Linked DNA regions of Homo sapiens: all the other regions are linked to region 1. The links are contacts of gene promoters, found by promoter capture Hi-C in blood cells and fetal thymus (Javierre and others, 2016). All regions are on one chromosome and are shown on one strand. Each heading gives the region's core, a stretch centred on a gene start or on the middle of the fragment in contact. The rest is flanking DNA. Distances are from core to core; before and after follow the strand shown. Region 1 holds the start of TMX3 (thioredoxin related transmembrane protein 3). Region 2 overlaps CD226 (CD226 molecule). Region 3 overlaps CD226 (CD226 molecule). Region 4 overlaps RTTN (rotatin). Region 5 has its middle 40 kb from the start of DSEL-AS1. Region 6 overlaps DSEL-AS1 (DSEL antisense RNA 1). Region 7 has its middle 21 kb from the start of DSEL-AS1.

Region 1 (3,984 bases), core at 1,263-3,762:
TCTGAACAAAAAAGCCTAAAAAGTTTATTGGTTTATTAAATCATTTTCAGATTAATGCATTATTTTGATCATTTTCTCATTGCCTAGATCAGTGATGTGCAACGGAAATGTAATGCAAACCAAGTATATAATTATAAATTTTCTAGTAGCTACACTGAAAAATAAAAACAGGTGAGATTAATTTTAATAATTTAATTAACTCAATACACCTAAGCTATAATCATCACAACATATTATCAGTAAAAAATATTGAGACATTTTACAGTTTTATACTTTCTCCCCAATCCAGTGATCCAGTGTATATTTTACATTTATAGTACATCTCATTACAACGTCTCTAATTTCATCAGAAATACTTAATTGGTATTTATTTTATAGAGACATGGTCTTGCTCTGTTGCCAGGCTGGAATGCAGTGGCAGGATCACACCTCGCTGCAACCTCAACTTCCCTGGCCCAACTTATCCTCCCACCTCAGCCTCTGGAGTAGCTGGGACCACAGGTGTGTGCCACCACATCTGGCTAATTTTTTTTTTTTTTTTTTGAAACAGAGTCTTGCTCTGTCGCCCAGGCTGGAGTGCAGTGGCGCGATTTCAACTCACTGCAAGCTCGGCCTCTTGGGTTCATGCATTCTCCTGCCTCAGCCTCCCAAGTAGCTGGGACCACAGGTGTCTGCCACCACGCCCAGCTAATTCTCTGTATTCTTAGTAGAGACGGGGTTTCACTGTGTTAGCCAGGATGGTCTCGATCTCTTGACCTCGTGATCCACCTGCCTCGGCCTCCCAAAGTGCTGGGATTACAGGTGTAAGCCACCGCGCCAGGCCACATCTGGCTAATTTTTTAATTTTTTGTACAGATGGGGTCTCACTGTGTTGACCAGGCTGGTCTCAGACGCCTCACCTCAAGCAATCCTCCTGCCTCAGCCTCCCAAAGTGCTGGGATAATAGGCATGAGCCACCCATGCCTGGGACTTGATCAGTATTTAGATTTCATAAAATTTACAGTTGAAAAAGTAGATTCACATACCTCAGTTGTTCCAACCACATTAAAAAAACTTTCCAATAGCTGAATCGAGTGTCAGTTTTTGAGTTTACTGAAATTAAAAAAAATAAATATTCAGTTATTTCATCACACTAGGCACATTTCAAAAGCTCAATAGCCACATGTGGTTAGTGGCTACACTACTGAAAAGCACAGATCTAGGTCAACTGGCTTTTGTTGTTGTCCACATGTGAACTTAAACTGTAACGCAAATATAAGAGGAAATTATTTCACTTTGCATGCTGTGGAAGACAGAAAACTTTGAAATACATGAGAATGAAAAAAAAAAATTGAATATGGGTCATTCAGAGACCTTGCCAAGAAAGTAGAAAAGCTTCTGTATAAGAGTATCGAGGCGATGGTACTATTATAAAGCTGTTCCACCACCACCGGGAGAACATTCCCATCATTTCAACAGTCCCCTTACGTTTTAGTCTACTTTTTTCTTAAAAAAAAAAGAAAAAAAGGAAAAGAGAAAGAAAAAGAAAAATTGAATCTGTAGAGGGCTTGCGCTGGATACCATGCTGCATGCACAAAGGGGGTGACATTTAGGGCTTGCTCTCAATTAGAGTGCAATTTAATCTTCTAGTCACTAGGAATAACGACGTTTTATGACATTTTTGCCTGTTGGAATTTTGAACCTAAGGTGAACCGGCTGACATCATATCCCCCTTCTGTTGTTGTCACAGGTTTTCAAAATTTGGTTTGATCTAAATTCTCTGGTACCTTATGTCCCATAAAAATTTCATCTAGTTCGTAAGTAGTGATTGCTGCAGTAACCGTCTTATAAAAGTATATGGTTTTTACAAATCATTGTCGTATAGAAGAAAAAACAGGTAGCAATATAAATATTTCATACTACTTTATCTAGTTCCAAAATAATCAGAAAAGAGCCATCAAAAAATATCCTACGCTTAACTTCATGTTCTCAAGTTTCAAGAGAAAGTTTTTAAAGAGGCAATCCTTACTTTGGCAAAAATGCATTAAAGCTTGCTGCATTTAAGAGATGTCCCATTATGCAAACAGGTTGAAAGAATATTACAAATACGTTTTGGAAAAATACGGAGTGTCGCGCAGCTCAGCAATCCGCAGTCTTAATGCGCGCCTCTTTCCAGGAATTTGATCCAGCATCAAAACCCACAGGTGCACTCACCACACGGGAGTAACAAGTAAATGATGTGCCAGTATTCAACCTGCAAGTGCGTCGTCAGAGCCTACCTCACCCTCAGCATAACTTTCACCGGTATTCACCTTCCCGGAAACGCGCCCCAGTGAACCAGCACCGTTTTCCCTAGTAAAGCCCTTAAGCAGGGTTCCCACGCTCCTGGGCGTGGAGGGGGGCACCGAGAGCGCAAAGGATTCTTAAGACATGACTGCGCAGGCGCTGTCGCATGCGCCGCACTCCCCTCGCATGCGCCGCACTCCCGCGCATAGCCGGAGACGGAGACTGGCCGGGTAGCCCCGCCCCCGTAGTTAGCGCGGTGCTTCTCTTCCGCTCCGGGTCGGCTCCGTTTCCCTTTCCGGGCGGGCAGGCGGCGGACCCCAGTGTCTTTATCCCTCTTTTGCACAGTCAGCTTCTGCAGCTCTCCCGGGCTAGCATGGCAGCGTGGAAGAGTTGGACGGCCCTGCGGCTCTGCGCCACAGGTAATGGGGGCTCAGCGGTCGGGACGCTGGCGGGCGCGTGGGACCTGGCCCCGCCGTGGGGCCGGGATTGGACCCGGGTCTGGGGCGAGGCCTGCGGGGTTCGTGGAGATGCCCACCCATTCCCGGCAGCGTCCTGCCGCCCCCGCCGCGCCACCCTGCCTGGCCCTGACGGAGCGGACACCTTGGGGTCCTTCCGCCGCCGCTGTGCCGGACCAATGCTGGACGTGGGAAGGGCGCGCTGCCTTGTGTTTGTGTTTTTCTCATTGTGGCAGAAGTTTCAATAAAGCTTACTCCTTTGATGGGCAAGAAGGATGCCGCCGTCCCAGCTTAACGACCAAATCTTGCCTTGGCTTTAGGTTCCGAGTCTTGTCACGTTTAAGGATTTTTACCACCAGTACTCAAGAGAGGGTGGTCGAGGACAGATCAGGGTCAGGCCGCCGGGATTGTGCGGTGTGAAAAGGACCTGAGTGTGTGTCAGCGGTTCTCAGCTGCCTCCCGTCAGCATGGAGTGCCCTCATTCTCACTGGGGTCCGCTCACTTAACAACCTTTTAGAGCCCACTCTGTGTCAGGCACTGCCGTGTAATAAGTATTAGAGTTGCAGCTCGACTTTCTTCCTACGTATCTATTTGAGGGGAAATATTTTGAATGGCATTTGGAGTTTTTACGGAAGAGGTAATTGCTACTAAAGCAAAAGAAATAAAGAAGAATGCTGTCTATTTGTATTCCAAAAAGATAGGATGGTTAAAAAGAGACGTAAGATGAGAGTGAAAATATGGAGGAAAAAGGAACTGTGTGTATTAGATTTATTGGCTTACCTAGAACTTGGCCGGTCACGATATGGTTGCATACAGACTAAATATTTATTAAATGGATGAACTACCTTTGCTTTTGCATCATTTGCACCCTGGGATGCATCAGTGATGAATTTTTTGGTAGGTTGTGAAAGGTCAAAAACACTTCAGAGATGACTAAGCTTATACGGTATGAGCCAAATAATCAGCATTTATTGTGTACATTTTGTCTTTTTTTTTCAGTTGTTGTACTTGATATGGTCGTCTGTAAAGGATTTGTAGAAGATTTAGATGAATCGTGAGTATACATATATATATTTAAAATATTATTTTAACTGTCCAACTCAGATATCTGAATATTTGCATGTGATTCTAATATTTTAGATTGGAACCAATTTTTATATATCACTCATTTTTTTCACTTGTTGTAAGTGAAGGTGAGGGTGTGCCCAGAAGAGTTTTATTAATAGTTATGAGATCAAAAAACTGTGGCAAACTTTTACATATT
Region 2 (3,727 bases), core at 1,121-3,620, 1.2 Mb before region 1:
AATGAAGAGGTGCATATAGGCTAAAATATGAGCATAAAGTGCATGTGTTGGGGGGGTGTGTAACCTAGCTTGAGGAGGAGGAGCAACCCAGGAAAGCTCAATGGAAGAGGCAGAAAGCAGCAGAAGGAGGGAAGGAAAGATGGTGCTGGGGGAGGGAGTGTCCTGGTCCAGAGTTCAGACGTGAGATGGAGTGTATGTGGTGAGTTGGAGGATCTGAGAATGAGCCCAGGGGCAAGGTGAGTGGTGGACCAGAGCTGACACTTGGAGAAACCATGACTACTTCTATTAGGCCTTAGAATATGTGCTGAGAAGTTTGAATTTTATCCTGGAGGCTTTGGGGATACATAGAATTTTAAGCTAGGGACTAATAGGGCCAGATCTGTTTTACAAAGATTACTCTGGCTGTACTATGTAATGTATATAGAGAATTATGACAAGGCCCTTGTCATTACCACCTGGGGAGAGGTGATGATAAGAACCTGTTCAAGTGGGAAAGCAGAGAAGTAGGCAGATGTAAGGCTATTAAGGAGGAGGAAGTGACAGGATTTGGGTGTGAGTGAAATGGGAGGGATGCACAAAGGAAGGAGTGAAGCTTGGCTTCAAATCTTGATAGCAGGTCATGTGGGGAGATGGTATTAACCAAGATAGAGATTGTCAGAAGGATACCATGTCACAAAGGTTCAGAATTCGTATGCAGAAAGTTATACTGCTCTCTCAACATCCCTTAAAGCAAACTTGATGAGCATATAATGAGTGCCCATTGGGTGCTCATATTGAGTATAAGAATCTCGTCTGTTCCCTTATGTACAAAATGTATAAAAAGGACAGTTCATGCCCCTAGTAGGTTGATACCCTAGTGGATGAACCGTGTATTTAGTATGAAAGATAAAGCTCAGATTTCTAGTCCAATGACTCATTAAAAAATATTGTGTGGTTTGATGCTTGTCTAAACATCAGGAAAACAAATATACTTTTTGTATTACTTTATGAATCAAACACATCATTGTTTCTTGTTGAGATGATAAATGTTTTGAGTCATGGCTTTCCGGAGGGTATTTTATTCAGTACAGATTAGTCTGACAGCCTATATTTTACCTTTTATTTTTTAAGGTGTATTTCACTTTCAGCATCCGAACTATATTTTGGGAGAGGAAATAGAGGGATGGTTAGATGGTCAATGTCATACTAAATTATTCTTTAGGACTAGAGCATTCTTAAATTCTATTATTTAAAATTGGTTTTGTCTTGTTACTCTTACATGATTTTATAAGTAACCACACACCAAATTAATCTTTTCCTGAAATATACATTGAAGTTTTTAGTTTTGTTTGTGGTATATTACAAATAAATCACAAATCAGTATCTGTGTGGTTATCTCTGGTTGCTGAAATCATCAGTGATTTATTTATTTGCATCACTTAGATGTCTAATTTAAACCTGCGAGTAAATTATTTTTGCTGTAAAATGCAATTGAATCTATTGACAGGCAAAAAATATGCTTTGTTCTCTTAACTGTTATTCTACAGTAATATACCTCTGAAATGAAATAGCACAACTGCAATAAACCTCACATTAGGGTATATCTGTAATCATTACCACTGGCTCTGGCACATCCTGTGATTTGATTCTGATCCCCAAATTTTATGGCTTTTTTGTTTTGTTTTGCTTTTAAAAGACAAACCTATAAATGTGAAAAATGTAATTCCAAGACAGTAGAGTTAGGAAGCCATTATGAAGGCAATTGTAGAGGAAAATTGAGAGTGTAAAATGATAACTTTAAAATATTTAAAATTATGGAGGTGGAAATTAAATTGCAGACTTCGGGGAAGTGCGTACTATGCAGGGGAAATGGAAGTCATCCCTAACTTAGAAAAAGAGTGTGTAGTGAGATAAAAGAGCCAAGGAGAATGGCAAACACTGAGCTTAAATATTTCAAAGCAACTATTTCAATTAGTTTCCGCATTTAAAAAATGGCGCGTAGCAATAGGACATATACCAATTCATAGGAAGCATATTTATCTAAGTTCTTTCTGACCTAGCTTCCAAAGGTATATTTGAGAACTAACTGTAATCTGGAAAAGAATTGTTTGTTTTCTCCATTTCATCTTTGCTTCCAGTGTTTACAATTTTAATGGGGCTGTTAGATGAATTCTGGCAAATGGAGAACCATGGCATGATAAAAAGTAGCTGAGGACCTTTGGTTAGTTATATTAACATTGAATTCATTTATTAGATTAAAAATACATCATATGGACTCTTTGATCATTTGCTAAAGTGTATATGCATTTCTGCATATTTTTACTCATTCTGCTACTAATAAAGCAAATAGCAATGATTGTCAACCCTATCAGATCCAATGTTCTCTTCTGTAATAAATACTTTATAAGTCTCCTTAACCATTTTGAAATCGTGTCCAGGTGCTATTGTGTGAGAGGGATAAAATGAAATGGTGAAATGTGTTCACCTCCATTTAGAATCACCGTGAACTATGACTAGAAGATGTGATTACCCTGAATGGCATTGTCAATCATTAACGATACTGTTTCCAAAATGAACAACTCTGGTAAAGCTCTAATACTTCAAAGTAAAATCTTCCCTCACTTTAAACTGAACAAGAGTAGAATTTCTAGAAAATCAGAGTATGCTAAGATAGTAAAAAAATATTTTTTTGGATGTTTTCTTGTGCCAATTTACTTTCAGGCGAGTCAGGACCTATTGCATTATTGATTTTAATTCCTTTGACTTTCCTTTGCAATTTCCTTGAGATTTGGCTCAGAATTTGGGACATTGTCTTAAATATAGTAGGTCCTCAATTGATGGTTATTTGTGTTAGTTACTTTAGAGCATGAACATTTCTGTTTTATTGGGAGTAACAGAATGACAGCTGAATGCAACTGAAATGGTTGTGGTTGTCATTCTCAATTAGAAGGAGGGCCAAAAGTCTAGTCTATCTTGCCTTTTCTTCTTTTTCCAATTTACTTCAGTAGAAATGCTTTTGTAAAGGAGCAATATATAGGACTTGGCACAAATACGGAACTCTGTAGCCCTTCAGTGAGAAAATTGGAAACTGGCAGAACTATCACAAGGAATTGCTAACCACAAAACTTGAAAATAAATATTCTCCTCTTGGTCCATGAACTCAATGGAATAATTGATATATGGTGTTCACTGTGAGTTTCTTTTCTGGTAGTGCTAATCAACTTGAACCAAGCTCCTCTTTGTCTTCCTCAAATTGCCAATGGCACTGATATGAGGTGATTGACTTGAAGCAGTCGAAGATCTCATCAAACTCATCAAAAATGTCAAGGTCGTAGAGTAGTTTTGCAGGTGTGATCTGAAATATTATATAGAAAGGTAGAATTTCAGAGCCAGAGATTTTTCACATTCTGACATAATACATACAAGCCAAATTCATAGATGGTAGTATAAATACTGGACATTTTAGATTATTGTTCCAAAATCATGCTATGAAAATATGATCACAGTGAGACAGCTTTCCAAATTTTGGAAATCTCTCTAATAGAAGTAGTGCATTTCCCCCAACTCATTTTGTTTCCAGAAACCTCATTAAGATCAATAGAATGATAGAGAAGTCGTGGGATGCCATTTTTTCCCCTTCACACTTTAGTAAGAAACATCTTCTTCCTTTTTCTCCCTTTCCGGTGAGGTTGTCTATAATTCTCCAATTCTTTTAGCACATCTGAAGCCCATCTTTCAGAGGGCTGGT
Region 3 (3,857 bases), core at 1,168-3,667, 1.2 Mb before region 1:
AAATGAGAGAAATTGGCCAAAACAAAGGGGCTACTAGCTCCATGCAAGTCTGAAATCCTGTAGGGCAGTCATTAAAACTTCAAGTTCCAAAAATGATCTCCTTTGACTCCATGTCCCACATCCTGGGCATGCTGATGCAAGAGGTGGGCACCCATGGTCTTGGGCAGCTCCACCCCTCTGGCTATGCAGGGTACAGCCTCCCCTCTTGGCTGCTTTCACAGGCTGGTGTTGAGTGTCTGTGGCTTCTCCAGTTGCATGGTGCAAGCCGTCTGTGGATCAGATTCAGATTGTGGGGTCTGAAGGATGGTGGCCCTCTTCTCACAGCTCTACTAGACAGTGCCCCAGTGGGGATTCTGTGTGGGGGCTCCAACCCCACATTTCCCTGCTGCAGTGCCCTAGCAGAGGTCTTCCATGAGGGCTCTGCCCTTGCAGCAACTTCTGAATGGACACCCAGGTGTTTCTGTACATTTTCTGAAGTCTAGGCAGAGGTTCTCAAACCACAGTTCTTGACTTCTGTGCACCCGCAGGCCCAACACCACGTGTAAGCTGTCAAGGCTTGGGGCTTGCACCCTCTGAAGCAACAGCCTGAGCTGTATGTTGGCCCCTTTTAGCCGTGGCTGGGACATAGGGCACCATATGCAGTCCCGAGGCTGCATAGAGCAGGGGGTCTTAGGCTTGGCCCAGGAAATCACTTTTCCCTCCTAGGCTTATGATGGAAGGGGCTGCCATGAAGGTCTCTGACATGCCTTGGAGACATTTTCCCCATTGTCTTGGTGATTTACATTTGGCTCCTCATTACTTATGCAAATTTCTGCAGCTGGCTGGAATTTCTTCCCAGAAAATGTTTTTCTTTTCTGTCGCATCATCAGGCTGCAAATTTTCCAAATTTTTTATGCTCTGCTTCCTCTTGAATGCTTTGCCCCTTAGAAGTTTCTTCTGCCAGATACCCTAAATTATCTCTCTCAAGTTCAAAGTTCCACAGATCTCTGGGGCAGGGGCAAAATGCCACCAAACTCTTTGCATAGCAAGAGTGACCTTTACTCCATTTCCCAAAAAGTTCCTCATCTCCATCTGAGACCACCTCAGCCTGGACTTCATTGTTTATATCACTGTCAGCATTTTGGTCAATGTCATTCAACAAATTTCTAGGAAGTTCCCAAATTTCCCACATTTTCCTGTCTTCTTCTGAGCCCTCAAAACTGTTCCAACCTCTACCTGTTACCCAGTTCCAAAGTTGCTTTCACACTTGTGGATATCTTTACAGCAACCCTCCACTCTCTGCTGTACTCATTTACTGTATTACTCAGTTTTCATGCTGCTAATAAAGACATACCTGAGACAGGGTAATTTATAAAGGAAAGAGGTTTAATTGATTCTCAGTTCAGTATGGGTGGGGAGGCCTCAGGAAACTTACAATCATGGTGGAAGGGGAAGCAAATATGTCCTTCACATGGTAGCAGGGAGAAGAAGAGTGAGTGCCCAGAGCAGGGGAAGCCCCTTATAAAACCATCAGATCTCATGAGAACTAACTCACTATCATGAGAACAGGATGGGGGAAACCACCCCCATGATTCAGTTATCTCCACCTGGTCTCTCCCACGACACGTGAGGGTTATGGGAACTACAACTCAAGATGAGATTTGGGTGGGCACACGGCCAAATTATATCATATGATCATGGAGACTGATAAGCCCAAATTTGCAGTGTGGGCTTGCAGGCTGCAGACCCAGGAGAGCCGATGGTACAGGTGAAGCCCAGGTCATCTGCTGCAGAATCCCTCTTGCTTGGGGAGGCTGGTCTTTTTGTTGAATTAGGCTCACCTACATTATGGAGGCAAACTGCTTATTCAAAATTCACCAATTTAAATGTTAATCTCATCCCAAAACACCCTTCAAATTGACACGTAAAATTAACCATCATACCTGTTTTGGAAAATGATATGGCATTAGCTAGTTAAAAACCCCAAATCCTATGATCCAATAATTCTACTCTGTTTGGTATCCAAGAGTTCTCTCATTATAGGGAAAATTCCTGACAATATTTATAGCAACAGTGATTGCAATAGCAAAAAATTGGTAACAACCCAAATACCCATCAACAGTAGAACCGAAAAGCACACTGAGGTCTATTCACACATTAGGATACTCTACATCACTAAAATGAGTGAATTATCACTTGCTCACCGACATGGATGAAGCTCATGAACTTTGTGTTGAAAGAAAAGAGCAAGTTACCAAAAAAAATAGGTAAACTAGGGTTCCTTTTCTTTAAAGGTTTTAGAAATATGCATAATTAAACAATACGTTATTTATAGATACAAACGTGGTAAAACTATAAAGAAAAGCAAAGTTCAGAAACATGGTAGGTGGGGGATAGAATAGAATCAGGAAGGGCTGAAAGGGTCTTTAAGGCTCATAGTCAGGGTGTTTTCCTTATACAGGTGTTTTATTTTGCATTTGTCTCAAAATGTTTTAGAAGATTTCTTTCAAATCTACTGATTTCTTTTTCTTTTCCTTTTTTGAGACAGAGTCTCACTCTGTTGCCCAGGCTGGAGTGCAGTGGCATGATCTCAGCTCATTGCAACCTCTGCCTCCTGGGTTCAAGTGGTTCTCCTGCCTCAGCCTCCTGAGTAGCTGGGATTACAGGCCTGCATCATCACACCCAGCTAATTTTTGTATTTTTGTAGAGATGGGGGTTTTGCCATGTTGGCCAGGCTGATCTCAAACTCCTGACCTCAGGTGATCCACCCCACCTTGGCCTCCCAAAGTGCTGGAATTACAGGCATAGGCCACCTTGCCTGGCCAAATCTACTGATTTCTAATGGTGAAAAGAGATGTGATTGCAATTTTTGAGCAGTTGAAAGCTCTAAGGTAAGGATGAAATCTTCATTCTGATATGGCCTGGGGGCCAGGTAGAGGTAAGTTTCAGCAATGGTTTCAAATTTTTATGATCCAAGGACTAAAAAATGATGATTTTAGTGAAAAAGATGTGAAATTAAGAGACCAACTTGGCTAGCAAGAGTGGAATTAAGTCTGTTTCAGGTGTATTAAATTGTAAAGTAGCCTTTGACCAGCTGACAATTGAAATTATGGAACAACAAACCAGGATTGAAAATATCCAATTTGAAGTCATCTGAATGATCATCCAGCACATGTGGATGGATGGGGTTAACTAAGAAAGTACCAATGGATGGGGGCAGAAGTCTAAGGTCATAGCTTGTGGCTTGGAGGATGGTCACATTGTAGTGTGTTAAAGAAGGTGTTCATGTTAAAGAATGTAGAGGGCATAGAGAAAAGAGGGGGAGAGTTGGGAGGGAGAGGAAAGTGAACAGGTGAATTATTGATGTGAGAGCAGAAGACACATAGAACTCATATTTATAGTAGAGGGTTAGATTTTCTTGCTCCACACATGCAGGTACTTTGTGTTGGCTGTATTGTATGTTTGCTGACTCTGTGATCTCCCATATTCCAGTCCATTTATCTCAAACTGGGCACAGAGATGTTCCTCACTGTTTCCCTTTAAGAGTCTCATTCTCTCCCAGGTGGGATGAGGCTCCTTATATGCCATCCATGCTCATTCTTAGAAGGCTCTTATCTCTACACCCTTCAGGGACAAGTGTTCTCTGTCCAGGTTCCCAGCAGCTGACATAGCAGCCAAAGTTTTCTTTCATTCTTGTATATATCTGCTGGTTAGTGGCACTAAAGAGATTCCTTTAATATTAAGGGCTCCAGAATTGATGGCAGTTCTGAGGAATCCTATGATGAAAGGGATTCTAAAGATCATGCTGGCCTATATATTAGTTGAGGGCAGCATGGCCAACATTTTTCTAATGCTGGGGTATAATCTCAGCCTTTAAA
Region 4 (3,813 bases), core at 949-3,448, 1.4 Mb before region 1:
AAAAATATGAATTACTGTGTTGTCAGAAATGCTAACTGATATGAATGTTTGTGTGTATATAAAACTTATTTAGAGGTTTATTATCGTCTTAGGCTGTTTTCTGTTGTTTTTAACATAATATCAGAAGCTGGGTAATTTATAAAAAACAAAATTTATTTCTTACAGTTATGGGGTGCAGGAAGTCCAGGTTTAAGAGGGCATATCTGGTGAGAGCCTTCTTGCAGTGGGGACTCTCTGAAGAGTCCCGAGGTGATGCAGGGTATATGTGGTGAGGGGGCTGAGCATGCTGATGTGCTATCTCAGGTTTTTCTCTTCTTACAAAGCCATCAGTTCCCCTTCCATGATAACCCATTAATCCACTATCCATGAATGGATTAGTCTATTCATGAGGGTAGGGCCTTCATGATCCAGTCACCTCCAAAGGCCCCACCTCTCAATACTGTTACTTTGGGGATTAAATTTCAACATGAATTTTGGAGGGAATGTTCAAACCATAGTAATTATCTTTTCCTTTATTGTAGATTGGTGAAGGTAGGGACTGTTTTGTTCATTATTGCATACCCAGCATTTATTATAGTGCCTTGCACATAGTGAGCTCTCAATAAACATTTATTAACTCAGTAATAAGCTATGTAGTTAATTACAAGAAGCACACAAAACCTTAATTTTATCACTAGTTAAGATTTAACAAAAATGGAAACCATGTATTACTTTCAAGGTTACTTATATATGCAAGTATATTTATAGACTGAATTTCTAGAATTGTAATTGCTGAGTCAAATTGTAGAGGTGCGTGTGTGCTGAGGTTTTTGTGGTTTTATAAATAGATAACTTATTTTGAATTAGATGGAGATTTTTTCATATTCGGTCTTTTCATGAATTGTATCTTGATGTCCTTGCTGGTTCTCCGCCACAATTGGGTTGTTAGTCTCCTTTCATTTCTTCTTTCCTGTCCTTTCTTTTCCTCCCTTCCCTTCTCCCTTCCCTTTCTCCTTTGCTTTTTCCTTCCATTTTCCTCTTCCCTCCCCTCCCCTTTCCTTGGAGCGTGATTTCATTCTGGTACCTGCAACTTGGACATTAGTGTAGAGATCTTTCACCTTTTGATTAAATTTATTCCTAAATATCTTAATTTTTTTTGGTAGCTATTTTAAATGAGGTTTTTTTTTGGGGGGGCGCGGTTACTGTATAGAAATGCTACTGATTTTTTATAAGTTGATTTTGTATCCTGCAACTTTATTGAATTCATTTTTAAGATCAAAGTTTTTTGGTGGAGTCTAGGTTTTTCTAGATTTAAGATTATATCATCAGCATAGAGGGACAGCTTAACTTGCCTTTTTTCTAATGTGGATGCCTTTTATTTCTTTCTATATACTAATTGCTCTGGCTAGGATTTCCAGTACCATATTGAATAGACATGGTGAGAGTAGACATCCTTGTCTTGTTCCTGATCTTAGAGAAAAAGCTTTAAACTTTTCACCATTGAGAATGATGTTAGCTGTGGGTTTTTCATATATGGCCTTTATTGTGTTGGGATTCCTTTTCTACTTAATTTATTGAGAGTTTTTATTATGAAAGGATGTTGAATTTTGTCAAATGCTTTTTCTGCATCTGTTGGTATAATCATGTGGTTTTTGTTCTTAATTCTGTTAATTTGGTGTATCACATTTACGCATTTGTGTATGTTGAACCATCCTTGCATCCCTGGAATGAATTCCACTTGATTATAGTGAGTGATCTTTTTATTGTGCTCTTGGTTTCAGTTTGCCAGTATTTGGTAAAGGATTTTTTATATCTGTGTTTATCAGGGATATTAGCCTGTAATTTTCTTTTCTTGTAGTTCCCACGTCTGGCTTTGGTATCAGTGTAATGCTGCCGTCATAAAGTGAGTTTGGAAGTATTCCTTCTTCATTTGGTTTTAGGAGTACAGAGATTAGTATTAATTCTTTAAATGTTTGGTGGAATTCAGCAGTGAAGCCATCAATCAGGTCTTGGGCTTTTTTTTGGTGAAAGACTTTGCATTACTGATTTAATCTCCTTATTATTGGTCTGTTCAGATTTTCTGTTTCTTCATGATTCCATCTTGGTAGCTCTATGTGTCTAGAATTTTTTCCACTTGGTTGTCCAATTTGTTGACATGAAATTGTTCATAATAGTCTCTTACGATTCCTTGTGTTTCTGTGGTATCTGTTGTAATGTCTTCCCTTTTCGTTTCTCATTTTGTCTTCTTTTTTTATTAGTCTAGCTAAAGGTTTGTCAATTTTGTTCATCTTTTCAAAATCTCAATTCTTGATTCTGTTACTGTTTTCTATTGTTTTTCCAGTTTCTATTTCATTTGTATCTGCCCTTATCTTCATTGTTTTCTTTTTACTAAGTTTTGGCTTCATTTATGCTTCTTTTTCTAGTTCCTTGAGGTTGTTTACTTGATATCTTTCTTTTTGACATAGATGTTTATTGTTATGTATGTCCTTCTTAGACCTGCTTTTGCTGTATCCCATAAGTTTTGGTTGGTTTGGTGTCCATTTTTGTTTGTCTCATGATATTTTAAAATTTCCCTTTTAGCTTTTTCTTTGACCCACTGATTGTTCAGGAGCATGTTGCTTAATTTTTATGTATATGTGAATACTCCAGAATTCCTTCTTTTGGTGACTTCTAGTTTTTTATCACTATGGTCAGAAATGATATTAGATATGATTTCAGTCTTGTTATATTTGTTAAGACTTGTAACACCATACATGTACTGTTAATTTTGTAGTATGTCATAAGGTTTATGTATATTTTATAATTTATTCATAGTTATGAAATTAAAATTAAATTCCTACAAGACTCTAGATGATTGTACTATAATTTTAATGCAGTTTTTGAAAAGGATTTTTGGTACAGTTACATTTACTTATTTGGTTTTGTATGGTATTAAACCTTTCTTCGGAAAGCTTCTACTTTATCTCATATATTATCACCACAAGTGTTATAAATAATACTACTTTTAAGAGTGCACAAAAGTGAACTTAAGTGTTCACTATCAGTTGGGTTTACTCCCTAAATATTATGCTACAAGATAAATTAATATATGTTATATAACTACCAATGTTTAGGATAAAGGGAACCTGGAAATAGAAAATCAAGTACCTTTTAAAGTTTATCCTTTGAAGTGAGTAAAATAAGTGAGAAATGATTTAAGAAGCTCAGTAAAATAACATTTCCAAGTAAATTGCTTTGAATGTATGGACATACATGAAAAGATATACAAAAGTTGTGGTTGCAAAAACAAAATTAGGCAGATATGAACGCCTGATTAGTCAGAAGAATGCTAAGAGGAAGTGAAAAGAAAAATCAGCTAACTTCCCGAGGGAAGATTTAGGAACTTTCTCTTGTGAAATTTTTTTCCATGTGTTTTATCAAGACATTCACTTATTACAAACATATTGTAATTCTTAGGCAATTTAGGAGTTTATTGCACCTCTAATCTGTTTTTAATATGATATTTTGTTTATAGTAACCTAGAAGTGCTGAATTTGAATACCTTTCTTTTTGGAATGCATTTTTTTGATGGAAGTTCACAAATGTGGGGCTGTTAGTTTTTTTCTTCTTTTGGTGAAGCTCAGCAGAACTACACAGCATATATATTTTCCTTGGCTGGCTTTCCCGTAACGGGCTCAATGTGCACTCAGACATTATTGAGGGTCTTGCAGTTACTTTTGGCATAGCTTGCTGATGGATGTAAAGTTGGATATGATGAGTGGTAACTGTGTGTGTAAACAAAATGAGCCATCATTATAGAAATGGTTGCCTTTTAGAGGTCAACAGTGACAAAAT
Region 5 (3,729 bases), core at 487-2,986, 1.2 Mb after region 1:
GCTGATCTGAATGAGAGTGATAGCATATACATATGTCATTTTCTTGTTTGCTCCTCTTCCCTAGTAGCAAAAACTACCCTAAGGAAAGAAGGTTTTTTTTTGACAATTAAAAAAATAAACTTTAGCATCATTGAAACATTAGAAAATATGTCTGCACAAATGAATAACTTAAAAATATATTATTACTGAAATGGAGATAAACATTGTAACATCTTGGCCTGTGTACTTCTAGAATTTTATCTGTGAGTAATTACCCATACCTCCCCACAAAAGACTATGCATTAGGTCATATAAAATATTTTTGGTAATCTATTTATTTCATATAACAATGTATAATGAACATCTTCTTCTGACACTAAAATATCTATGTCAGCACTTAAATATGCAGAAGTATTTTTTATTCTTCAAGTCCTTGGTACTAAATAACTACTACTCACTCAGTTTCCCCTTCATAGCTTACCGAGAAAGGATCGTAGCAAATCATAGCTTTCAGTAGGTACAGAACATAGAGAAACATTTTTTAATTGCATAATTATACTAAGATAGAAGTTACAAATCTTGGACATTGATAGACATTTACTCATATTAACTTGGCCTGTGTACTTATATAAGCAAAACAAGATAATACCTATCAACACATTTCAGGCAAATTTCTACTTTATCGATAAATCCAAAATGTGATCACCATTAGTACCACCACTTCAAACCATGTAAAGGGATGATTGCAAACTTATGATATTTAGATACTACTTTAGCCAAAGATATTATATTTGGTTTTATATTTTGAATAGTGGTCTGTTGTATCACATGCTGATCTGTCACCAGTCCATAGAAAACCTTTGTGAAATCTAGGAAAAGATGTCCTTTCTGGATGGATAAAGTCCTGCAAAGTGCCTGACTTGACAAGGTGACACTCCTTCCTCCATATGGGGCAGGTATATCCCCATGCCAGCCCCAGTTTAGTAAGTGGACCTCAGGCTGAATTTCTGCTCCTATTCTCCTGTCAAAACTGTATGTGGTGCCCTGAAAGTTGGAAATACTAATGAAAGATTCAAAATAAAATTAGTATTCCCTACTATATTGTCTTAACAAATTAAAAAATATGACTCTGCTAAGAAACATTATTTCAGTATTTCATATGCAGACATTTAAGTTGATTCTCAAACAAACATATCATTAATTTTTTTCAGTCTGTCTCTGCACTTTGAAGAGATAATCTCCAGGGTACAAGCTGTCACAGGGCTGAGTCACTAATGTATTTTGACTTTACGCTAGGAGAAATCACTTCACATCTGGTATTAAAGAGTGTTCGTTTCTTGCTTCTTGTGACAGTTCTTGGCAAAGTTTGTTAAACCATAATGTTTATTTAAACATGTTTTAAAAGATGTGCCCAAATTGCTTTTATGTCCTTGTAGTTTAATCATAACATTATGTGCCACTGAAGACCAGAAGATACATGATTTACACAAATTATCCAATATAAATGGTTGGATGCGATGGCTCACACCTGTAATCCCAGCACTTTGTGGGGCCAAGACAGGAGGATTAATTGAGGCCAGGAGTTTGAGACCAGCTTGGGCAAGATAGCAAGACCCTATCTCTACAAAAAAAAAAAAAAAAAAAGAAGAAAGAAAGAAACTGAGCCAAATGCGGTGGTGCATGCCTGTGGTCTCAAATACTCAGGAGGTTGAGATGGGAAGATTGTTTGATCCCAGGAGGTCAAGGCTGCAGTGAGCTGTGATCCTGTCACTGCATTCCAACCTGGGTAACATAGTGAGACACTGTTTCAAAAATACATAAATATATACAGACATTATTGCCACTTGAATCTAAATCCTTCAATATATGATGTACAATGAGGCTTATATTTGTAGAACTCTCAATAAAATCATACCTAAAAATGATAGGAAGTTTCTACTCATGAATAACTTAAATTCAGGCCAATGTTCACCTGCATGAAAGCAGAGCTCTCCCTTCTATGCTTTTGTAAAAATTGTGATCATCCATGTATGTATAAGGTTATCAAGTTACCATAAACTTAGTAGCTTATAACAACAGAAATTTATTATTTTACATTTATGGAAATCAAAAGTCTGAATGGGTATCATTAGGCTAAAATAAAGGTGTTGTTAGGTCTGTGTTTCTTTCTGCATTCTTTTGCTAAGTCCTCACATTGATTGCCCCATCTCTGTGGGAGAGTTTAGATTGTGTCACAGTTTTGAGGAGGGCAGGATTGCACTTCTCCTTCCCTGCTTACATTATGATCCTGTCGAGGGAACAAAGGATCAGAGATTGAAATGTAAGCTCTATTAGTGAGAAAGCCCAGTTTGGAAGAATGTGACAAAGATGAACTCCCTAATACTTAAGAGTAGATTTTGGCAAAGTTTCCCACCCAGCCCCAAGTGGTGCTGGAAACCGCACATGGAAATCTGTCCTTACAGTACTCTTAACCTGGAGGCATGGATTAGAACACTTAATCTTACTCTCAGGTAAGGCTGATTCCCAAGAAACATCAGGACTGGAGTCTAGACTATTTGGCAGTTCCCCTCTATATTTATCAGCAGGTAACTTTGCCCCCGTGGAAAGAGGTAAGAGGAGAGCAAGTAAAAACCCCTCCTCATGGAAACCACAGCAGTGAGTTAGAAACATTCCTCTCTCTGCTGTCCAACAGACTAGTCATTTTAATAAACATCTAAGAAATTTATTAAAGTCACTTATAAGACCTGGTAATATTATATAGTAGTTTAGCTGTCTCAAAATAAAAATCCCTCCTCATGGAAACCATAGCATTGAGTTGGAAACATTTCTAAATATGTTAGGAAATAGATGGAGCATATGCCATTAAATTGAATTGTAGGAACTAATTATCCAAATAATCTGACCCACCATTTCTCCAAATTTAAATTTCAAACTATTTATTTTGATACAAGCTGCCTTACATATTTTGGAATAAATAAAATCTTGTTTTAAATTATGCAAAATGCTTAAGGGAAGAGTAAAAATAATTATCTGAATATTTATAAATGTGTTAATAACATCATTTTTCTTTATACTAAGATCTATAAATTGCTAAGTATGTTTCCAAAGAAACATGTTATCTATGTTTAAGGTGAGTTTAGAAAGCCTTTTTACTTTAGAATTTACTTTAGAATTATGTGCTCTTCGAGATCAGGGATGGAACTGGGCTAACCATTGTAAAATATATCACCATGCATTCCTTGGGAGCTCTGCAAAAGTTTGCTGAGGTAAAGAAAGACAAGCAGGAAATTATTTCCAGTTGGTTGGAGCCAAACTTCCTAAGTTCAAATCCTGCCACTACAATGTACTAACATTGCATGACTTCTGGCCAGTTACTTAATATTTCTGTGCCTCATTCCCTTCAAGATGTAAAAGGATTATAATAACAGAACCTTCCATAGGGTTGTTGTAAAAGTTAAGTTTAATATGTAAAGCCCATAGAATAGCAGCTGGCAGATTGTAAGCTAGTATAGTAAGTATTCATAATAAAACAAATGGAGACCCAGAGACTTGTCCCATGTCACAGGTTTAGAAAAATCCAGGGCTTCAGCCCAGTATTCTGATTAATTCTGGCTCTGTATTTAATATGCTAAAATTATCTTCACAATATATATTCATGGGATTTAAACATTCCAACTTTAGAGCTAGATGTTCGGGCATGCATGAAGATGTTCCTGTATTGAAATTCTTATGATATCCAGCATTTTGGGG
Region 6 (3,683 bases), core at 248-2,747, 1.2 Mb after region 1:
AATTCCTGGGGTGCTGAACTAGCATATGCAAAATCAGGAAATTTATTTTCATGCAGCCAGCTCACAATCAGAAGTCAAAACCTTGCCGTTTATGATTTGAATCCATTTTATTTGGCATTCACAGAGTTTTCAAAACAAGTTAAGCCATTAGAAAAATCAGATAATTTCCCATACAAGTTCAGATTTCTGGCTTTCTTTGCAAAATCAGATTATCTCGTGACATGGGTCCTTACGTTCCACATGACAACAAGCACCTGGCTGGCTTCACCCACATAAATTACCTACCTCCCATCTCTATCAAACTTTACGTCTTTGAATCTGAAACAAAATTATGTTCTATTTTAAGTAGCTAGCCAATTATTATTATTATTATTTTCATTATTATTATTATTATTTTAATTGACAGGTAAGGCCAGGCACAGTGGTTCACGCCTGTAATCTCAGAACTTTGGGAGGCTGAGGCAGGCAGATTACCTGAGATCGGGAGTTTGATACCAGCCTGGCCAACATGGCAAAACCCTGTCTCTATTAAAAATACAAAAATTAGCCAAGTGTGGTGGCCACTGGGGAGGCTGAGGCAGAGAATCACTTGAACCTGGGAGGCAGAGGTTGCAGTGAGCTGAGATCGTGCCATTGCTCTCCAGCCTGGGCAACAGTGTGAGACTTTGTCTCAAAAAAAAAAAAATTAGAAAAATAAAATAAAATAAATTGACAGGTAAAATTGTAAGTATCATGTAAAATATCATGTTTTGAAGTATATGTAGATTACAGTTTGACTAAATCTAATTAACCTATGCATCACTTATAGTTATTATTTTTGTGATGATATCAGTATGTCAAAGAGACACTGATATATATCTCTGCACTGCTATGTTAATTACAGCTCTATTCATAATAGCCAAGCTATGGAATCAACCTAAGTGTCCATCAATAGATGAGTGGATAAAGAAAATGTGGTACATATACACAGTGGAATATTATTTAGCCATTTGCAACAATATCTATGAACTTGGAGGACATTATGTTAAGTGAAATAAGCCAGGCACAGAAAGACAACTACTGCATGAACTCACTCACATGTGGATTTTTTACAAATTGATCTCATAAAACTAGACTGTGGTGGTTATCAGGGGCTCAGTTATTGGTGGGGGCAGCAGGTTTAGGGCGATGTTGGTAGCTGGCAGTATTTTAAAAGGTTATCTAATGGTGATTTGTTAATTTTGCAGGATCATAATGGAATTTAAAAATACAGGCTTCTTATATTTCCTTCCTCACTCTACCTTCAAGTAGGGTTTTGGATCTCATATCTCGTACTTTTAACAAGTAATTCTAGGTGATTCTTCTAATTAGGTAAATTTAATACATTCTACAAAAGGAATAATTTTCAGGGGATAAGAAAGAGGAGTCAGCCTGTTCACATAAAGCGTGGGCATTTTTGAACCTTTCCTCCCCCCCAACCTTTCACTATCCCACCATACCTCAACCTCCCACACCTCAACTACTCACCACCAAATACACTGCTTTTATGTGCTTCCCTGGGGGTGCATGGCTCTCTGGTTTGTGTCATTTTATAATAGATACTTTTAAGGTATAAGCCAGCTCTCTCTTCCTAAGATGATTGATATCTCGAACCCACGAATGTCAGCCCCTGTAGCAGTATTTGAACTATATGACCCTGAACTGCTTTCCATTGCTGCTGGAGTCATGATGAAACGCTGACTCTGCTAGGAAATCATCTTTTCCGAGAATTTGGATTTGAGGTTCAAAAAAGACAATTGATTTCTGCCCGATGGTGGAGTCAAAGTGATATAAACTTGTGCTGAAGGATAGCCATGTTGAGTTGTATCACCATGAAGGAGAAGGTGAAATTGATTCTCAGAAAAAGAGAAGGAAGTAAATGCTCAGGAGCAGAGGGAGAAGTCTCCCTGCCTCACATGGATGGAAAAAGGAAACTTTTAGTGGCTTTCCAGCAAGGAAGCCTACTGAGGAAATATGATACTGGCTAGATCTGAGTAAGATACAGGTGCTGATGGCGGGTTAGTGGCCAACACTCTACAGAGGAACCTGTCACTTCTGCTCTACAGCTAAACTCTCACTTCTGGGCAACAAACTCCTCTGCTAACTGCCATTTAATCAACTTGCCCCCCAAAATACAACTTTCATTGTTTCTAGGTTGTATTCATTTTTTTCTCTTTTCTGTTTTATAAATCTTATTTGCCTTTATTGCTTGACTCTAATATCTCACTTCCTCACATGTGAATAAATAATTTAAAGGCAAGACTATTAAACGTTCTGCAAAATAGCTACATACATGTTTCTGAGTTATTCTGCAACACCAGTTCCTAATCCTAATCAGTCCTTATGCTTCTGCCAGCCTGAGAATGTTTCTGTTATGTAGCCAAACAAACCCTCAGGCACAGGTGTGTGTGGCAAGGAGAAAAGAATGAGAATTATGTTCGAACAGTGACTCTCAAAATTTGTTAGGCACTTGAACATTTTAAGGTACAGAATACCAGGTTACACACTGAGATTCTTAATCCATAAGGCTGAGACAGATTTGATAATTGACATTTTTAATAGCACCATGAACTTTCTGATACTGGTAGTCTAAGAACTGTAATTTGAAAAACACTGTTCCAGTGGAAATAAATCTGATAGTAAAGGTAATTGGGGTGCATGATATGTACAGGGGTTGTGGGTAAAATGACATTCTCTTATTAACATCAGAAGGGCATTTCTGATAACCCAAAAAGACACATCATTCCAAATATTATTTGGTAGTAATTAGTTTACTGCCAATTATGCCTGTAGGCATAGCTCAAGTTTTTATAAGAGCTGAGACAGCTAGGTTTAGAAGTATTTTAGGTCAAATGAAGAAAAATGGAGCCAGTAGCTGGTAAACAACAAAAAGTCATCTGTGAATAAATTAGAGAAAGCTAGTGTCTTAGTCTGTCCTTGCTGCTATAATGAAATACCACAGATAAAGTAATTTATACATAGCAGAAATTTATTTCTCAGAGTTCTCAAGGCAGGAAATTCCAGGATCAAGGTGCCAGAAGATTCTGTGTCTGGGGAGGGCTTACTCTCTGCTTCCAAGATGATATCTCTTGCTGAATCCTCACATAATGGAAGAGGCAATAAAGAAATGAACACTGTGTCCTCATGTGGAGGAAGAGATGGAAGGTGCTATGGTCTCAACGTGTTCCCCCAAATCCAAGTGTTGGAAACGTATTCCCCAATGCAACAGTGTTAGGAGGTGTGGCCAAATGAGAAACCTGTTTAGTTCATGAAGAATGGATTAATGCTCTATAAAAAGGGCTGGTGGGAGTGGATTCTCTCTTTCTCCTCCTTTTCTGCCATGTGAAGATATAATGTCCTTCATCTCTGGAGGCTGCAGCTTTCAGGTGCCATCTTTGCAGTAGAGAAACTGGGCCCTAATCTGCCAGCACCTTGACCTTGGACTTCCTAGCCTCCAAAACTGTGAGGAAATAAATTTCCATTCATTATAAATTACCCAGGGTCAGGTATTCTGTTATATAAGCACAACATAGACTGAGACCAAAAGGCCAAAAGGAAACTAGGGCACCTTTTTTTTAAGGCACCTCTTTTATACGGCACTAATGTCATTCATGAGAAGAGGACTTCCCAAACGGCTCCACCTCTTAATACTACCAATTTGGTTC
Region 7 (3,574 bases), core at 199-2,698, 1.2 Mb after region 1:
TCTGTTTTGGCAAGTTGTGGTTTTAAGAATTTGTCTTTTTGGTCTCATTCTGTTACATAGGCTGCATTGCATGGCGTGACCTTGACCGCCTGGGCACAAGCAATCTCCCACCTCACCCTCCCAAATAACTGGAACTACTGCTGCACACCACCGCACCTGGCTAGTTTTTTTTTTTTTTTTTTTTAATTATTTTTGTAGAGATGGAGTCTTACTCTATTGCCCAGTCTGTGTCCTTTTCTTTTTCACATTTATTGACCCAAGTTTACTCAAAATGCAGATTCTGTTGCCTCTCTATTCATCCCCTACATATTTTTTCTATCCTTAATATTGAGCATGTGTGCTTTATTTCCTTTTATTACTTAATTGGAGTTTCCCTTTTATAATGTGTCTTTTTGAAGATTAATTTTTAGTTTTACTTTGTTTCTAACTTCTATTTTATGTACATTTGCTGTTGCATTAACTTTGGCTTCTGATTTTACCTATTTCCTTCATTCTATTTTATTTTTTTCTAATTTGCTTTCGATGGTGTGTTTTGTATCTTCTTTAATGAGATATATGATCCATTTTTTTTTGCCGGACTCCTGCCAAAACCCACCAGGAGTAAGCTGGATTTATTGCTTCTTTTAGTGAGAGAGATTTAAGAAGTGTGGCTTTTCTCTGGATTAGCTGCTCTTAGGAAGTGGGAGTAGTTCTATGATTGGGTATCTGAATAAATCTTATCTAGAAGGAGACATGAATGCAGAGAGGCTAAAGCTGTAATTGATGAAAAAGTAGCCATTGCTTATATTAACCGGGAGACATGAATGTGCACTATTTTGTGGTTTAGAAAATGTTTATACTTTTTCTGTATTCAAACATGATTATGGAGTAGTGTCGTTTTTGTCTTGATCACTGAGGTGACAGAGTGGCTTTGTTCTGTGAAATGTTCATGTTCAACAAGAGGATATTGGGCCTGGCTGATGGTGACAGGCCAGCTCCTCAATGTCAGGAGGTAATTTTTTTTTCATTCCCATTTTTAAATTATTATTATTTTTTACTATACTAATTTAAGGCTATTAATTTATTTTTTAAACCCTATTGCTTATATTCCACACATTTTGATATGTAGTTTATTCATTAACCCTTCTAAATGTTTTCTGACTTCCAGTGAAACTCATGGTTGAGTTATTCTTAAATTTATACAGCACTATTTATCTCTTGTTATTACTTTTTATCTTCAGTATGTTGGAACTTTGTTTAGTATTAGTTTGAGATGTAATTTTTCATTTTGATATTACCAAACATTTTGTGGCCTGATGTTTTTAATATACATACTGTAAATAGAAGATAGCTGGATTTTACTGATATTCTAAGAATCATTGTCTTTTATCTGGAGTGTTTATATCCATGTGATTATTGATATTCATGGATTTATTTATAATTAGCATGTACTTTCTGTCTATACCTCTTTTAACTATTAATATATTCCTTTTCAACTTCTGTTTTGAATTATTTTGAGATGATTAATGCCTCCCTTCCTTTTACTAGAAGCAATGCATCCTATTTCTATTATTTCAGGGCTTATTAGAGAAAAATGAAAAGTGATTATTACTCTTTTATACAACCACTATTTGTATATTTATTCATATGTTTATGTTTTTCTTTCTGTACCATCAAACTGCTCAAGCCTTTATTCTGTGCTCATTTTTTTCTGCCTTAAGTGCATCTTTAATATTTTCTCAATTTTTGTTTGCCTAAAATGTCTTTTTATGACATTCATTCTTGCAACGTAAGTTGGCTGTACATACAGTCCTAGGTTTACAGCATTTTGAATATATTATTCTACTTAACTCTTTTTACTACTTCTGTTTTCTCAATGAAATAGAAAGCAGAATCAATAGATGAGAAAAAAGATGGGGAAAGAAGTCTTGGAGGCTGGATAAGAGAAAAGGAGGTATAAAAATAGTCATCTAGAAGAGTGAAAGAGTAAAGGGTATGGAGAGGGGAAATTTTGTACCATTGCTAGACAGCTCTAATGGCCTTCTTGAAAGTAATGGCTGTTCACGTTCTGTAAGAAACCTGCTTTACCCCAGCTCTGTTCAGCTGCACACATGCAAGTGTAGAAAAAAATGGAAAGCTAGATTAGCCAGATTGTGTTTTCCCCAGGAGTGAGTGAGATGACAGAAGAAAAAAAAAATAAGAGATAAGGTTGCATGCAAGGGACTGATTATAGAGGGTAAAGTGGCTATGAGAATATGAGGCTTAGGAAACACTGTAAAAGGGATTTTAAATCGTGGCATCCAAGATTGTTGGAATTGAGGTACTAGCTGGTAAGATAAACTAAATAAACTAGTTTTTGTCATTTTCAAAATTGCCTCATGAGCAAAGAAGGCTAGTAGAGCTGAAATCATCATTGCTGCATTCCAGGAAGCTGGAAGGAAGGAGAGAAGAGCAACATCCCAGATGATGTTCTCTTCTGAAAAGAGCCTGTTAATCAACAACTTCCACTTTCTTGAGGTATAATTTGTAGAAAAGAAGAATTTCTGGAATTACTTGAGATTTTAAAAACATCAAAGCAGAGACCTCCACAGATTCAGATTTCCGTGGCCTGGGGGGAGGGTAAAATGGGTAACCAGCATCTGCATTTTTAAAATGCTCACCCTCCAGGGGATTCCACTATGTAGTGGAGGGAAATCCACTGCATTAGGCATATAATAGTACAATCAGTTACAGTTGTTTCTTGTTTTCTGCAGTAATTATGTCATATAACATTGTTGCAAACACTGAATTAGTGAACAATACCCTATTGCTCCTGGGGAAATAAAGGGTTAGGGTGGTGGAAGCCTTTGGTCACTAAATTTTTATCAGTCAATAACCTTGGTTCATGAGTGTTTCTGTTTAAGGACACCTTATATAATAAATATTGTTGATTGGTTTTTGACATTGAACTCACAGCCAACAGCACTGTAACTCATACCTGAATGAAGCTTATCTAACACTTGTATTTTCTTTGTAAGGCATATCATAGCCTTCTTTAGTCTAGGAACACTATTAGCCCTGCAACACTACACTTTGGGGCCAATTTAAACAGCAAACTCACCAACAAAAATCACACAAAAAAGTGTGAAAAACGTGGCATTAAATAAGCCCTTAAGAATGCACTTGTTTATAGCATGAAAGTGGAAACAAACAGGCAAAGCACTACCTTGTTCAACCTCAGTTGGGAATGTGCTCTCTCTCCAGGTAACTTAAATTTTTTGCCACTCTGCATATATCTGCAAATGACCATTGACAGTGATTATTGATTTTTGAGGGAACATACCTTTTAGCAAGAAGTCAAACTTACAAATGCAAATCTGCACATAATGAGGATCAACTGTTTGTGAAGTTCTTTCCTTTCCATATGTAGCTCTGGTTTTTTCAGAGATCTCTGCTTGAACAACAGCTCCTGCAACAGCTCCCACAGGTCTGTTTCTGTGCACTTGTGCTCTCTCTGTCCCACTTTAACAAGAATTGTTCTTTTTCAACCATTTGCAAAAAGTTTTGTTTTAATCTTACCCTTTCGCTCATTTTCAGCACTTTTTAAAGTGATATT

Evidence for each region. The method cuts DNA at HindIII sites, captures the fragments that hold promoters and counts their contacts. A CHiCAGO score of 5 or more calls a contact.
Region 2: a contact is called between a fragment that was not itself captured here and the fragment with the promoter of TMX3 in region 1, in 1 of 17 cell types (total CD8 T cells). The highest score is 5.2, in total CD8 T cells.
Region 3: a contact is called between a fragment that was not itself captured here and the fragment with the promoter of TMX3 in region 1, in 5 of 17 cell types (activated CD4 T cells, non-activated CD4 T cells, total CD4 T cells and 2 more). The highest score is 10.7, in activated CD4 T cells.
Region 4: a fragment that was not itself captured here is called in contact with the fragment with the promoter of TMX3 in region 1 in 2 of 17 cell types (M0 macrophages and total CD4 T cells); the score reaches 5.8 in M0 macrophages.
Region 5: a contact is called between a fragment that was not itself captured here and the fragment with the promoter of TMX3 in region 1, in 1 of 17 cell types (total B cells). The highest score is 9.2, in total B cells.
Region 6: a contact is called between a fragment that was not itself captured here and the fragment with the promoter of TMX3 in region 1, in 12 of 17 cell types (total B cells, total CD4 T cells, naive CD4 T cells and 9 more). The highest score is 20.8, in total B cells.
Region 7: a fragment that was not itself captured here is called in contact with the fragment with the promoter of TMX3 in region 1 in 1 of 17 cell types (naive CD8 T cells); the score reaches 6.9 in naive CD8 T cells.

The regions. Positions count from the first base shown.
Region 1 is chr18:68,713,636-68,717,619 of GRCh38, reverse strand. TMX3 (thioredoxin related transmembrane protein 3) reads left to right here and starts at 2,512. Exons shown (of 16, transcript NM_019022.5): 1 at 2,512-2,684; 2 at 3,720-3,774. The coding sequence starts at 2,639. It also overlaps a transcript of CCDC102B not described here. RefSeq lists an enhancer at 2,185-2,254 and silencers at 2,455-2,584, 2,765-2,864. The HindIII fragment of the contact is 941 bases long and covers 2,032-2,972 here.
Region 2 is chr18:69,913,810-69,917,536 of GRCh38, reverse strand. All of the region lies in intron 2 of CD226 (CD226 molecule), which reads left to right. Among named protein-coding and RNA genes, the nearest start is that of CD226, 32 kb to the left of the region's middle. The HindIII fragment of the contact is 3,552 bases long and covers 595-3,727 here.
Region 3 is chr18:69,937,749-69,941,605 of GRCh38, reverse strand. The region is part of intron 2 of CD226 (CD226 molecule); the gene reads left to right. Among named protein-coding and RNA genes, the nearest start is that of CD226, 8.2 kb to the left of the region's middle. RefSeq lists an enhancer at 1,445-1,784. The HindIII fragment of the contact is 6,842 bases long and covers 1-3,857 here.
Region 4 is chr18:70,116,649-70,120,461 of GRCh38, reverse strand. All of the region lies in intron 26 of RTTN (rotatin), which reads left to right. Among named protein-coding and RNA genes, the nearest start is that of RTTN, 87 kb to the left of the region's middle. The HindIII fragment of the contact is 1,468 bases long and covers 1,465-2,932 here.
Region 5 is chr18:67,474,359-67,478,087 of GRCh38, reverse strand. No RefSeq gene overlaps it. Among named protein-coding and RNA genes, the nearest start is that of DSEL-AS1, 40 kb to the left of the region's middle. The HindIII fragment of the contact is 9,635 bases long and covers 1-3,729 here.
Region 6 is chr18:67,521,189-67,524,871 of GRCh38, reverse strand. All of the region lies in intron 1 of DSEL-AS1 (DSEL antisense RNA 1), which reads right to left. Among named protein-coding and RNA genes, the nearest start is that of DSEL, 6.3 kb to the right of the region's middle. The HindIII fragment of the contact is 5,417 bases long and covers 1-3,683 here.
Region 7 is chr18:67,493,778-67,497,351 of GRCh38, reverse strand. No RefSeq gene overlaps it. Among named protein-coding and RNA genes, the nearest start is that of DSEL-AS1, 21 kb to the left of the region's middle. The HindIII fragment of the contact is 3,041 bases long and covers 1-2,968 here.